Regions from separate parts of the Homo sapiens genome. Here regions 2, 3, 4 and 5 are each linked to region 1. The links are contacts of gene promoters, found by promoter capture Hi-C in blood cells and fetal thymus (Javierre and others, 2016). All regions are on one chromosome and are shown on one strand. Each heading gives the region's core, a stretch centred on a gene start or on the middle of the fragment in contact. The rest is flanking DNA. Distances are from core to core; before and after follow the strand shown. Region 1 holds the start of TBC1D23 (TBC1 domain family member 23). Region 2 overlaps CMSS1 (cms1 ribosomal small subunit homolog). Region 3 overlaps CMSS1 (cms1 ribosomal small subunit homolog). Region 4 overlaps CMSS1 (cms1 ribosomal small subunit homolog). Region 5 overlaps CMSS1 (cms1 ribosomal small subunit homolog).

What was found. The method cuts DNA at HindIII sites, captures the fragments that hold promoters and counts their contacts. A CHiCAGO score of 5 or more calls a contact.
Region 2: a contact is called between a fragment that was not itself captured here and the fragment with the promoter of TBC1D23 in region 1, in 3 of 17 cell types (megakaryocytes, erythroblasts and M1 macrophages). The highest score is 6.9, in megakaryocytes.
Region 3: a contact is called between a fragment that was not itself captured here and the fragment with the promoter of TBC1D23 in region 1, in 15 of 17 cell types (erythroblasts, megakaryocytes, endothelial precursors and 12 more). The highest score is 11.8, in erythroblasts.
Region 4: a contact is called between a fragment that was not itself captured here and the fragment with the promoter of TBC1D23 in region 1, in 13 of 17 cell types (neutrophils, non-activated CD4 T cells, activated CD4 T cells and 10 more). The highest score is 9.5, in neutrophils.
Region 5: a contact is called between a fragment that was not itself captured here and the fragment with the promoter of TBC1D23 in region 1, in 1 of 17 cell types (neutrophils). The highest score is 5.5, in neutrophils.

Annotation. Positions count from the first base shown.
Region 1 is chr3:100,259,555-100,262,394 of GRCh38, forward strand. TBC1D23 (TBC1 domain family member 23) reads left to right here and starts at 1,438. Exons shown (of 19, transcript NM_001199198.3): 1 at 1,438-1,517. The coding sequence starts at 1,465. RefSeq lists enhancers at 842-1,510, 1,246-1,735, 1,511-2,179. The HindIII fragment of the contact is 5,201 bases long and covers 1-2,756 here.
Region 2 is chr3:100,019,357-100,022,196 of GRCh38, forward strand. All of the region lies in intron 1 of CMSS1 (cms1 ribosomal small subunit homolog), which reads left to right. All of the region lies in intron 1 of FILIP1L (filamin A interacting protein 1 like), which reads right to left. All of the region lies in intron 2 of LOC105374010 (a long non-coding RNA gene), which reads left to right. Among named protein-coding and RNA genes, the nearest start is that of MIR3921, 56 kb to the left of the region's middle. The HindIII fragment of the contact is 1,353 bases long and covers 692-2,044 here.
Region 3 is chr3:100,059,571-100,062,410 of GRCh38, forward strand. All of the region lies in intron 1 of CMSS1 (cms1 ribosomal small subunit homolog), which reads left to right. All of the region lies in intron 1 of FILIP1L (filamin A interacting protein 1 like), which reads right to left. Among named protein-coding and RNA genes, the nearest start is that of FILIP1L, 54 kb to the right of the region's middle. The HindIII fragment of the contact is 3,666 bases long and covers 1-2,840 here.
Region 4 is chr3:100,076,556-100,079,395 of GRCh38, forward strand. The region is part of intron 1 of CMSS1 (cms1 ribosomal small subunit homolog); the gene reads left to right. The region is part of intron 1 of FILIP1L (filamin A interacting protein 1 like); the gene reads right to left. Among named protein-coding and RNA genes, the nearest start is that of FILIP1L, 37 kb to the right of the region's middle. The HindIII fragment of the contact is 1,951 bases long and covers 500-2,450 here.
Region 5 is chr3:100,095,591-100,098,430 of GRCh38, forward strand. All of the region lies in intron 1 of CMSS1 (cms1 ribosomal small subunit homolog), which reads left to right. All of the region lies in intron 1 of FILIP1L (filamin A interacting protein 1 like), which reads right to left. Among named protein-coding and RNA genes, the nearest start is that of FILIP1L, 17 kb to the right of the region's middle. The HindIII fragment of the contact is 2,462 bases long and covers 201-2,662 here.

The DNA of each region.
Region 1 (2,840 bases), core at 188-2,687:
AAGGGACCCAGGGGAGGTCCTGAATATTAGAATGGTAATGTGACCTAGATTCACGTCTTTTATTCTTTTTGATAGAGGGCATCTACAGTCTCATTCTATGTTAAAAGAAATGTTCCCTAACAGAGAACTGAACATTACAGAGATCCGGGCCTTGGAAGTGGGTGCAGTACCATGCAGATCTGTATTATTTCCCTTTAGGGAAGAGAGTGAACATGTTTTTGGTTGTAAATGAGATAGCTGTACTGTTTTGTATCTATTTAAAACAAATAGTTTTTGAAACTATGAAACATTTTAGATACCTAAGTATAGACTCTATAAAGAACACTGGCCACCTATGTGGCCACCTTGGGGCCCTTAATAAATATTTAAAAATTCATGGAAACTCCTCCCTTTCCCTGAATGTAACTGCCATTCCGAGTTTTCTATATATCATTCTCCTGCATTTTAAACTCATATGGATCTATTTTAAATATATTGTCTTTTAAACACCAACTATAAATGATACCATACTTTACCTATCCGTCTGCAATCTGTTTTGCTCATTTAACAGCGTATTTTTCAGATGTATCCATATTGTTACATGCAGTTCTACTTCATCACTGTTGTTTTCAGGGCTTGCAAAAGCGTTTCTTTAGGTCCATCCTCCTGAGCGTGTGCTCACCCCAAGGCCCCGGCGGTGGCCAAGTGTCCGCCCATGCGGTGTAAAGGGGAAGTGGAACGCGTAGAGAAGGATTTTGGCAGCTCTGCTTGCCTGGAATTCCAGTCCTAGAATTCTAAATTCGGACTTGATCTTCCAGACTGTTAGGAAGATATATTTAAGGTAGGAGGCTAGAACGTATCTCCTTTAGTATATAGCTTCATTTACAACTTTTAAATATTCAGTCAAAAAGTATGTGGGCCTTCATTTACACTTTTGACGGGGCCTCACAAATAGGGGTGGTCTGCCCCTTTCCTTACGTCCCACTCTTTCTTCAAATTAAATTGCTACAGCAGGAAATTACTGAACTGTGGCTCTTCTCCTACGTCCGCCTTCCCTATGTCAATTCCCATTTCCCTTGCTTTCTCCAATAGTTAGGACTGTAAATTCTAACTTTGTTAATTTCGACGCCAAGCTGGAATGAAGACGCTAAGTGGACGCTAAAAAGACACGCTGTTTGTCACACAAGGCCTCCAACTGGGACGGCGTCCACCGCGCCCCGCCCCGCCCGCGGCACCGTGGCATCTTGGGACATGTAGTCTTTGGAGGGGCAGCTGCCTCCACCAAGTCTCCTCCCCCAAGACGCTGCCTTTCGGCCTCGGGACGCCGTGACGTTGCGTTCCTCCAGTCCCTTGCCACCTCCCTCTTTCTTCCCCTCTGGGGAAGCTCAGTGCTGGACTTCCGAAGACCTTTTACGACATTGAGTCTCGGAGTTGGTCTCAGCGCCGGATCCACTTTTCGGCAAAGTGACGTGGACGTCAACAGCAATGGCGGAAGGAGAAGATGTGCCGCCGCTGCCAACGTCGAGCGGCGACGGCTGGTGAGTGAAAGCCGGGGCTAATTTCCAATGCCCCTTTATTCTTCCTTCTCACCATCTTGCCGGTCCCCGAGGAGCCGTCTGGCGTCGGCATGGAACGGAGAGGCCGGTCCTAGGCGAAGTCCGGTGCCCTGCCCTACCCCTCTGCCAGCTGGGTGCCCCCTGCCTGCCTGGTTCTGCCCAAGGGACTGGGGCGGGACTCCCAAGGAGAGGGGTGTCATCCAGGTGCTGGGCCTCAGAACGGTCCTCCTGTGTCGTCTGTCAGTCTCCAAAGTGTGCTGGAGTGGGTGGCTTCAGGGCTGGGTTTGGCCGGAGTCCTGGCTGTGGGAGTTGGAGTAGGCTGAAGAAGGAAGTTTGTTGGATGCAGATCTGAGTCACTAAAATACAATGTGAAGAAAAGACGTTTTGAAATGACCACTGCGACCTTCGCCTGAGGGTTCAGAGGTTGACCCGAGGAGAATCCCTCCCACTTAGTTGGTATACTTTTTTTTATTCTGGCTGTTATCTCGTTTTGCATTCCAACAGTTTTCATCGTTCGTCTCCTTCACGCAAGTCATCTTTTCCCCTACTACCACATTTCTCACAGCTCGATTTCTGAGCTTTGGATGCAGTGTGGGACTTTGCTCTTACTGCACCCAAGCTGTTGCATGCTTACCTGATTTATACTCGGGATTGTGGGGGAAGACCGCCAATAATTTTTTGGTAAACTGCTCACCCAGTGTTAATCTTTGGGAAAGGCTTCTACTTTTGAAATAGTTGATCTCACGATACACTGTTAGGTTGTACAACATCATTTTTTAAAAAGGGACCTTTAGAGGCTTGTCTAAATTTTACAGTTGATCTAAGTGTATTGACCACATGTATTAGTTTTGGATTTGCTTGTTCGTTATATTGTATGTGTACAGCTCATGGGCACTTTAAAAATAATACAGGACATTGATAGACATCGACTTTAATCCCAGAGGAAAAAAATGGAAATCGTTGAAAGGGATAGATAATTAGTAATTAAGAAATTCAGCTCTCCATTAGCAGACATCAAACATTACCGTAGCGCTGGGCTCTCCAAGGTGTCAGAGGAAAACTTCATGGTGATCTAGATATAGTTTTTTTTTCTTCAACTTGCTTATGTTGGAGTTGGGAAGGTGTAACAAGGTAAAATTAATCTTATTCTTTGTGAGTGTGATTCAAAGTGTTACGAGAGGTTGGCGGTGGGGGCTGGGGCAGTTGGAGTCACTGGGGGAAAGCTTCATGAAAGCAGCAGTGTTTCAACTAGGCTTTGAAGAATAAGTAGGATTTAAGCCCCAGGGCTGTCTAATAGAAGCCACA
Region 2 (2,840 bases), core at 118-2,617, 240 kb before region 1:
AAGACATAAAAATATGAATTGACAGGAGAGTAACCTCTCAAACCTTACCCTTACCGAAAGGAATAGCAGGTGATTGAAAATTAATAATAAGTGATGACATTTAAAAAATAATCTTAAAGTTCTTTAAAAATTTATTTTTAGTGATTTAATTTCTAAAAAGATTTTTAAAGTAATTTTTTAAAAGAGAAAAGTAAATACGTAAAATTGTTCTATTTTAATGTATTTAAAGACAGTAGTAGATACTTTTTTCCTCTAAAATTATTTCTAGATATCTTGACTATTGCTGTTGACTGTCTTTCCATTCCTTTTCTATGTAAAACTCTTCTCTTTTTAAACAGTATGAATGTATGCTGATGTATGTTTGTGTAAGACTGCGATTCACATTCTACAGAACTATCATCTTTCAAACTATTACAGCAAAATTAAGGAGTAAGATAATTTTTCATCATATTGTCATCCAACTTCATGACTTATTTTCATTTTTTTAATGTACTTGGCATGTATGGAAGAGAATTCCAGAAAGCTACAGTGACTCTTTTTTTCACTTAAAGGAAGTGGCTAGAATGAGATTGAGGGCAGGGGGGAATGTGGCACAAGGAAACTGGCTTAAAAGCTCTGTGTGTATTATGTGCAATTTTATTTTCTGAGTAATATCACTGATTCAGTAATTACCCTGGGTAGTAGCCATACAAGCTTTCTTGTTCCCTGGAAAGCCTTACTATAATCCAGAACTTTGCTAGCATATCATATACCTTGTAATTTTATTTTCTAAAATTAAGTGGCATTTAATGTCTTCATTTCCCCATGTAACCTTTTAAAAGCCTTGTATCTTCATTTATTTTATTGCTCCCACACCCTCTTTCTGTTTCACATAATTCTTTGCAATTTACTTCACTATTCTGCAAATAAATCATTTGCAGATTTTCTAAAAGCTGTATTCTCGCATTTAGGACTTGGTGCCATGGTTTCTTAGTAGAAGACAACTTTACAACCAGAAGTTGCAAGTTCCCCAAGTTCAAAATCTGTACATGTTTGCACTAGAAAGCCAAAATATTCCCTCTGTAGTCACTGAACTTCCAAAAGAAAATACATGCTGTCAGCCTAGACAGAATTGATTCATTTAGGCTCTAATCGTTTTGAAGGCCTCAGGTAGGGCTTGCGAGACTTAGCATTGCTTTGGCCATTCTGTTTTGAGGACTGCAATTGGGTTATATCTTTTGCCATAAGCTAAAAGGAATAGCAGCAGATTGAAAATGAATAATAATTGATAACATTTTTAAAATAGTCTTAAAGTTCTTAAAAAGTGTTTATTTTTAGTGATTTCATTTAAAAATTGCAAAGCGAGTATACATGTTACTATTAACTTACTAAGAACTATTTTTTAGAAAGTAATGAATAATTAGCTTTTTTTTTTTTTTTTTTTTTTTTTGAGACAGAGTCTTGCTCTGTTGCCAGGTTTGGAGTACAGTGGCACGATCTCAGCTCACTGCAACCTCTGCCTCCCAGGTTCAAGTGATTCTCCTGCCTTAGTCTCCCAAGTAGCTGGGACTACAGGCATGCGCCATCATGCCCAGCTAATTTTTGTATTTTTAGTAGGGACAGGGTTTCACCATGTTGGCCAGATGGTCCTGATCTCTTGACCTTGTGATCTGCCCGCCTTGGCCTCGCAAAGTGCTAGGATTACAGGCGTGAGCCACCACGCCTAGCCTAATTTTGCATTTTCTTAGTGCCAGTGTGCTGTACTTTTCAAGGCCGGTCAATTGCCTAAGACCTCAAATCCTGACGCAAAATTCCCCAGCTTACTGCTCTCACATAGAACACACTTGTGCCAGTGTCACTGCTTTTCCAGGCATGCAAGCAAAACCATTGGAAGTAGCTGAATTTCTAGTGACACCCTATAGAGCTCTCCTTATATATAATAAGTTCATTCTTCTTTGGAGTTGTTAAAAAGTGAGGCTCAGGTTTTTGTGCCCTCAACTTTATCCCCCTTGGTTTATTGCTGCCTTCCAAGTTCAGCATCTCAGCATTTTTATTTCAAGAAATAAGCTTATGATGCACAGCATTAAGCAAGACACTTTGGGAGAGGAGGAACCCTTCCCGGAATTTCAGAAGTCTCCTTGTAGAGAAAATTCCTGTAATGTTTTGTTTTACTTCAAAAATCTGAGTGCCAGAAAGAACAGAGTCAAGAAAGGAGCTATCGTGAGCTCTTGAATTTGAAGCAAAGTCTGTACTGTGACCCCATTTTAGAAGATCACTGGCCCTCCATAGAGCACTACTTTGAACAAATCAGTGAATTTTAAATCAAGTGTCTTGGTTGCTTATATTTTTAAAATCTCAAAAGATCTAAATTCAGATGCCAGTGAAAGCTTTGTAAAGGGAACCTCCCCTTCCTCAGCCTACCCTTAACTTGCATTCTAGGAACTTCTAGGTGCTTTAGATATCCCCTAAATGATTAAAGAATAGATTATAATTCAATAGAACAGTGATTTGCTGGTTAAAGGAAGAATAGCTGATACTTTATGAAACTGTTCTTAGAATAGCTTGGATGCTAGATCCCATTGTGTGTGTGTGTGTGTGTGTGTGTGTGTGTGTGTGTGTGTGTGTGAGAGAGAGAGAGAGAGAGAGAGAGAGAGAGAGATATGAGGGGGGCACCAAGACAGACATAGTTATACCCATTTCCTTTTTCCATAAAGCATTTGCAGTAGCTTGTAACCAACACACATTATAAAATTTACATAGGGATTTTTAAAATTTTAAATAAAAATAGAGGGAAGCCCTTGGAAAAGAAATGATATTAGAATAATGTTGAGTCTCTTGGGAATCCTGCAAGTTTTTTGCTT
Region 3 (2,840 bases), core at 108-2,607, 200 kb before region 1:
GGTTGAAGATTCAAACAGCGTTAGGAGCCAGGAAGGTTTGTGAGCCAGAAGGCGGGGGCCAAGTGCAGGACAGAGTAGTGACTGGGACTGTACTGTAATGAAAAGGACCCATCATGCCTGAAGAAGTCAGTCATTACACAACTCCAGCTGACTGGAACCATCCATATGTGCCGGCCTAGAATTGTCAGAGCTTCCAGTTTGTCAAGAGAAATCAGAAATCCAGATTTCTGTGTGTATGTATCATCTCCTGATTTTTAAAAAACTCTGGCAACTAATTCATATTCTTCAAAAACATCATGTAGGCCAAACAAAACATGCATGTGGACTGGATTCAACCTATGAGCCTCCAGTCTGGGGAGTTCTGGCCTCGTTAGTGAGGTAAATCACATATGTATGAAATGATTAATTTAAAATGTGACCCATATGACTAGGGGTGGCACAGGCAGTTTTCCTGCTGGAGGAGGACGGTTGGGGAAATGGGGGCGGGGGGAAGATGGGCTCCAGGTACATGTGCCCTCAGCTGTGCCGGGTATGGTAAAGGGATTTGAGGAAACTGGAGGTGTGTGTCACATGGTGGGTGGGCTACGGTGCCAGACTGAAGAGGTTGAGATTTACTTTCTATGTCATGAGGAGCCCCTAAAGATTTTTTTGATCTACTATTTTAGAAAATAAAATCTACTGGGAGGTAAAGGAGTGAAGTACCATGCAAGGAGAAACCATGAGGAGACTCTTGCCTTAGTACTTTAACTGTTTCCCACTCCACCTCCTCTTCCATCCCTTTATACCACATCCAAAAACCATCTTCCTGATGCCCTTCTAAGAGAAGGCAGCTCCTTGGCCTAGCAAGGTAGCTTTAAAGTATGCCAATGCCCTAAACGAAAACAAGAAAATGAAATCAGAGCACATTAGAATAGCATCTTCACCCAAGAAAAAAAAAATACATAAAAATGCTTAGCTACCACCTCTCACTGAGTAAAAACCACCACTTAAGAAACAAATAGGGGCTCGGCGCAGTGGCTCACACCTGTAATCCCAGCACTTTGGGAGGCTGAAGCAGACAGATACCTTGAGCTCACAAATTTGAGACCAGCCTGGGCAATATAGTGAAACCCCATCTCCACAAAAAATAGAAAAACACAAGATTTAGCCAGGCACAGGGTGTGTGCCTGTAGTCCCAGCTACTCTGGAAGCTGAGGTGGGAGGATAACGAGCGTGGGAGGCGGAGGTTGCACTAAGCCAAGATCACACACCACTGCACTCCATCCTGGGCAATAGAGCCAGATCTTGTCTCGAAAAAATAAAAATAAAAAACAAATAGGGCATCTCTTTGAGCCATACAGATCTATCAATGGCCTGCATGGCTTTGAAATGGAAGTGCAAGTTGCAGAACCACATCCTCATTAACCGCACGAGGTGATGAGTTGCAGCATAGCAATAGCCACACACAAGAAACCACACCCTTTGCCCCAAGATTTATTAGCAGGGCTTTCTCTCTTAAGTGGCCAATAGATGTGCACATAGAAGTTGACCTTTACTTCTAATCAAGGCAGAAAGGCACTGTTAAAATTTAAAAAAAAAAAAAATTTTAAAAGGAAGGAAGGGTACAATTTTTAGATTTTAAAAACTATACTTCTTCTAAATAAACCTAAAATACCAAAAACAAGTGATCCCTCTGTACACACTGAGTATGTTTGTGTAATGAGAGGCTCCTTATCTCTGGACAGCCAGATGGGGTGAGTCCAAGTTGGGGCCAAGCACATGACATTCGAAAATCTTCACAGGTGGTTGAGGACCCTGCACAGTTTTGCTTAGAGATTAAAACTTAAATGTTTGGCTGATGTAGGCAATTCTTGGTTATTCCAGGGTGTTAATTTTCCCAGGCCCTTGTTTTACTTTCTTTCTCCTCCTACCCACATTTTCACTATTTTATTTCTTATTAATACCTCCTGCAGAGAATGAAAAGAAGAAGAGAAAGAAGATGGAACTTTTTTAAAAAATTGCTTTACCTCATAATAAGAGCAGTACTAATAATTACAACACCATTAACAACCACTAGCATTTCTTGGACTTTTATTGCATTCTAGGTGCTAAGTGCTTTACACATATGAATTCATTTAATTCATTTAACCCTCACTACCTCCGAGGTGCATGTCGTTATCCTCCCATTCTGAGGTGAGAAAACTGAAGCACAGAGAAGGTAATGCAATACCCAAGGACTCACAGCTAGGAAATATCAGAGGCAAGATTTGAAGCCAAGAAGACTGATTCCAGAGACTTCACTTTTTTCATTTATTCATTTATTGTGGTAAAATATATATAATACAAAATCTGTCATTTTAACTATTGCTAACTGTGCAGTTTAATAGCATTAAGAACATTCACATTGTTATGCAACCAAGACTACTACCCATCTCCACAAACTTTTTCATCTTCCCAAATTGAAAGCCTTTACTACTCTATATTACTTCCCTAGTAATACTTAGAGATCTGGAAATATCCACTTGTGGTTATCCTGTCTTCTTCTTTTTTTTTTTTTTTTTTTTTTTTTTTTTTTTTTTTGAGACGGAGTGTTGCTCTGTCCCCCAGGCTGGAGTGCAGTGGCGCGATCTTGGCTCACTGCAAGCTCCGCCTCCCGGGTTCAGGCCATTCTCCTGCCTCAGCTGCCCGAGTAGCTGGGACTACAGGCGCTCGCCACCACGCCCAGCTATTTTTTTGTATTTTTAGTGGAGACGAGGTTTCACCGTGTTAGCCAGAATGGTCTCGATCTCCTGACCTCGCGATCCACCCGTCTCGGCCTCTCAAAGTGCTAGGATTACAGGTGTGAGCCACCGCGCCCGGTC
Region 4 (2,840 bases), core at 225-2,724, 180 kb before region 1:
TCGAGGTTTCATCCCCACTGAATGTCAGTCTTCTGAGTTATTTTTTCCTGGATACTTGTACTTAATTGTATTTTGCCAGACTGAACTCACTGTGTACTTTACTGTTCATTTTTCTGATCTCCAGGGATCCATGAATATTGTTTGACTTCACCTCTGTTTCTTCTACCATCTCCACCTTTAGTGCCATGTGAGGAACTTATTAATGTAACGTCTTCTCAGATTTCCAGGTCATTAATAAAGTTGTTTAATAAGATCTTTTGTGCAGCCTGGGAATTAGTCAGACTTACTCAGTATTTACAGCTCTGCTATCATTTCTTGCCCACTATTATGTCCTGTGTAGTTAAGGATGCAATAGAGACAAAAATTACTTTTCAAATTACAGTTCCTGCAAGAGATGTCTCTTCCCAGAAGACCCTTTACTGTTCCACATAAGAAATCAAAACTCTCATTTAATTAGAGAGGGCTTTCGGAACAAGGCTGGCCAGGGTACGCTTACATAAGCTTGTTTGCAGATTCCGGTTAGGTCTCCCAAGGTCACAGACAGCTGTGTTTTGCATTTAGCGTCCTTTGAAAGAAGAGTGGATGCTTGGATAGCTTGTACTTGACATGCAAAGAACTTAGGAACTGCATACTTTCACATGTTGCTCGTAGGTTCCAAGCAAATGGGAACACACCATCATGCAGAAACTCTCTATCTGCCGTTATCCTGTGAGCTCCCAATCAGTGATGCATGGTGTTCTTAAGAAGTAGACTCAGGCAACAGCCAAAGTCATTTCTTTCTCTTACAATCTGAGAAGCAAGTATGTTTGTACTTCACTGAGAGTGTTTCAGGACAGCAACCAGTTTAAAAATAAGAGTAGTTAAACAAAAAAGGTGGTTAGCTATTAAGCCATGGCTGGATTTTATAGCACAAAAAGTTAATGCAAGGCAGTGTGTATTTAAGATAAGGAGGATTTAAGGAAATGGAGAGGGGAGAAGAGTAACATTCCAGGTAGAGGAATTGCAAGATAGCCTTCATCCCCACAAGAATTAACATAGTAAAACAGTACAGAATGAGATAAATTCAGTAAAAATAATAAGGAATTGGCTTTGCCCAGTGGCTCACACCTATAATCACAGTGAGGTGGGACAATGAATTGAGCCTAGTAGTTCAAGACCAGCCTGGGCAACATGGCAAGACCCTGTCTCTACAAGAAATAAAAAAATTAGCCAAGCATGGCTGTGCATGTCTGTGGTCCCGCTACTGGGAGGCTGAGACAGGAGGATCACTTGAGCCCAGGAGGTAGAGGCTATAGTAAGCTGTGTTCGCATCACTACACTCCAACCTGGGTGACAGAATAAGACCCTGTCTCAAAAAAAATAAGAATAATAAGGAATTATTAAAATAGAAATTTAGGACACCCAGTTTCACTTACTCAGACTCTAAAATGGAATGTCAGTCGTTTAACAGCCAGCTAAAACATTATTAATTGTACTAACAATATTGAGTTATCCTATTTATAAGTTAGAATTGGGCTTGCTTTAAAAAAAAAAAAGATAATATATGCTGGTTTGATAAAAATTTCATGTCAGTATTTTAGTATACAAACATCATATTGGTGCTAATATATTTGCTCCCATTCCTCAGAACAACTAAAGAAAAGTAAATTAACTTTTCAAAGTGTTGAAGTATATAGGAGGGAAAGTAACAGTAGTTATTGAAATAAAACACCCTCTAGAAATGCACCCTTGCATTTTAGCCAATAATTGATAAATCCAGAGAAAACGTAGAACTTTGCCTAATTTTTTTTTCTGTTACAGTTCTTACATGTAGAACGATGACATAACACATATGTAATATAAAACATAATGGTTGTCTTAATTCTCTATTGCTACATAGCAAACCACTCCAAAATGTAGTCGTTTAAAACAGCAATAATTTATTTTTTATTGACTAGGTCAAGGGTGTCCAATCTTTGGCTTCCCTGGGCCACATTGCAAGAATTGTCTTGGGCCACACGTAAAATACACCAACACTAGCGATAGCTGATGAGGTAAAGAAAAAAAAAATTGGCCTGGCATGGTGGCTCGCTGGCCTGTAATCCCAGCACTTTGGGAGGCCGAGGCAGGCAGATCACTTGAAGTCAGGAGTTCAAGACCAGCCTAGCCAACACGGCGAAACCCCATCTCTACTAAAAATACAAAAATTAGCCGAGCATCATGGCGGGTGCCTGTAATCCAAGCTACTCGGGAGGCTAAGGCCGGAAAATCCCTTGAACCTGGGAGGTGGAGGCTGCAGTGAGCCAAGATCACACCACTGCACTCCAGCCTGAGCGACAGAGTGGGACTCCATATCAAAAAAAACGGAAAAAAAGATTGCAAAAAATCTCATAATATTTTAAGAAAGTTCACTAATTTGTGTTGGGCCACATTCAAAGCTGTCCTGGGCCACATGTGGCCCACGTTGGACAAGCTTGGACTAGGTTCAACTAGATGGCTCTCTTTTCCAAATGAGGTGGGCAAGACCTCTGCAATAGCATTCAGCTGAGGCTGAAATGTACAAAATGACCCCTCATAATCCAGGCCTCTCTCCCCAGTCCTCTCAGCGTTAGCAGTCTTTTACAGTCTTTACAGCATGGTGACTGGCTTACGAGAATGCAAAGGTGAGAGTCGCCAGGCCATTTTGAGGCTTGTTTACACCCCAAAGTGGTAAAGAGTTACTATCGATGCTTTCTGTTGGTCGAAGTATTCAAAAAGCCAGCCTAGATTCAAGGTAGAGGAAATAGCCTTCACTTCTTGACAGGATGGATGGCAAAGAATTTGTAACCATCTTTAATTTCCATATAGTTGCTTAGTAAATA
Region 5 (2,840 bases), core at 182-2,681, 160 kb before region 1:
TATCTCTTGCCTAATACAAAAATTAAACCAAAATGAATTAAAGACTTAAATATATAAGACTTCAGACTTTGAAACTGAAACAGGAAAACATTGGAGAAACTTTTCAAGACATTGGTCTGGGTAAAAATTTATTGAACAATACCCCACCAGCACAGGCAACCAAAGCAAAAATGGACAAATGGGATCACATCAACTTAAAAAGCTTCTGCCCAGCAAAGGAAACAATCAACAAAGTGAAGAGAAACCCACAGAACGGGAGAAAATATTTGCAAACTACCCATCTGACAAGAGATTAATAACTGCAGTATATAAGGAGCTCAAACAACTACATAAGAAAAAAATGAATAATCCAATTTAAAAAATAGGCATAAGATTTGAATAGACATTTCTCAAACGAAGACATACAGATGACAAACAGGCATATGAAAAGGTGCTCAAAATCATTGATCATCAGAAAACTGCACATCAAAACTGTAATGAGATATTATCTTACCCCAGTTAAAATGACTTTTATCCAAAACACAGGCTGGAAAGGATGTGGAGAAAAGGGAACTCTCATACACTGTTGGTGGGAATGAAAATTGGTACAACCACTGTGGACAACAGTTTGGAGGTTCCTCAGAAAACTAAAACTAGAGCTACCATATGATCCAGCAATCCCACTACTAGGTACATACCCCAAAGAAATGAAATCAGTATAGCAAAGAGAGATCTACACTCCCATGTTCATTGCAGCACTGTTCACAATAGCCAAGATTTGGAAGCAACCTAAGTGTCCATCAACAGATGAATGGATAAAGAAAATGTGGTACTTAAACACAATGGATACTATTCAGCCATAAAAGATAATGAGATCCTGTCATTTACAACAACATGGATGGAACTGGAGGTCATTATGTTAAGTGAAATAAGCCACGCACAAAAAGACAAACATCACATGTTCTGACTTATTTGTAGGATGTAGAAATCAAAATAATTGAACACATGTTGATGGAGAGTAGAGGGATGGTTACCAGAGTCTGGGAAGAGTAGTAGGGGGTGGGGAGGAGATGGGGTTAGTTAAGGAGTACAAAAAAAAAAAAGAAAGAATGAATAACACCAGGTATTTGATAGCACAACAGAGTGACTACAGTCAAATTAATTTAATTGTACATTTTAAAATAACTGAAAGAGTATAATTGGATTGTTTGTAACACAAAGGATAAATGTGTGAGGGAATGGATACCTTATTTCCCATGATGTGATTATTATACATTGCTTTCCTGTATCAAAATATCTCATATACCCCATAAATATATACACCTACTATGTACCCACAAAAATTAAAAATAAAAAAATTTTAAATGAAAGCCAATACAGTATAACAACTATTTACATAGCATTTATATTGCATTACACCCTGGGCCACAGATCATACCACTCTGTGGCCTGTTAGGAACCAGGCCACAAAGCAGGAGGTGAGCAGCAGGCAAGCCAGCATTACTGTCATTACTCCACTTCCTGTGAGATCAGCAGCATTAGATTCTCATAGGAGCACAAACCCTATTGTGAACTACAGAACTGCACATGCGAGAGATCTAGGTTACATGCTCCTTATGAGAAAGACTAATTCCAGTTGCCCTGAGATGAACAGTTTCATCCCCAAACCACCAACCATCCCATCCGTGGAAAAATTGTCTTCCACAAAACCAGTCCCTGGTGCCTAAAAGGTTGGGAACCACTGTTGTATTAGATATTGTAAGTAATCTAGACATTTTTTAAAGGCTACAGGAGGATCTGCATGGATTATATGCAAATACTGTGCTATTTTATATCACTGACTTGAACATCCTCAGATTTTGGTATCTGAAGGGAGTCCTGGAACCAATCTTCTGTGGATATGGAGGGACAACCCGGTATTCTAATCCACGAACACAGTATATCTCTCTATTTTTAGATATTTGATGTCTTTCATGAGCATTTTGTAGTTTTCAGTATACAAGCCTATATATATACATGTTTTGTTGGATTTACATCTAAAAGTGAGATTGCACTCTGTTTTTAAAGCCATGTATTTGTGAACATGTACGTCATGAATATTTTCTAAACTATTAGGTTATTTTCAGCACCATTAATAGACTCTAATAATTAGTTCTGGATTTGAATATTCTTCGTTATTTGGCAAATATCACAAAGACTACTTGGTTATTAAATTTTTCCTAGCCCAGGATTAGGCCTCCATTTCAACAAAATACTCAGCTGGATACTTGCTACCTTCTAAGTTGCAATGGCTTTGTTGCACTTTTTCTGAATAGCTTTGTGTTATATTTTTACTCAGTAGAAACTCTTATCATTTATTTTGTTGGTTTTTTAAAATTTCATCAACGGTAGCATATCTGACAAGGTAATAGTGATTTTTAATGTTTAGCTAGGCATAGTAATGGTACGTGCCACATTGCTATTTGAAAAATCTAGTAAAACAAGAATAGCAACAAGATCATAGGTCAGGGACTACTTTGACTCTTGGCTGTGCTGTAATTTGTTATTGCCAACCCACTGGAGTCTGTACTGCTTGCAGCACAGCCAGCTGAAAGCCTCCCTGTGATTCCCTCACCAGTTAGCAGATTCACATTTTATGACAGGTAAAAAAACAAACTACACGGTACCTGTATTGGTGATGATAAGCTTCAGTAGAAGGAGGTAACGAGAAGTAAAGAAACAAGCACTGTGTTTTAGAGTGAAAAACCCTATATTTGAATGCCATTTCCACCATTTAAACTGCTCTTTGACCTTAGGCCAGTTACTGAACTTCTCTCAGGCTAAACTTTCTCATCTGTAACATGATGACTAGAATGGCTACC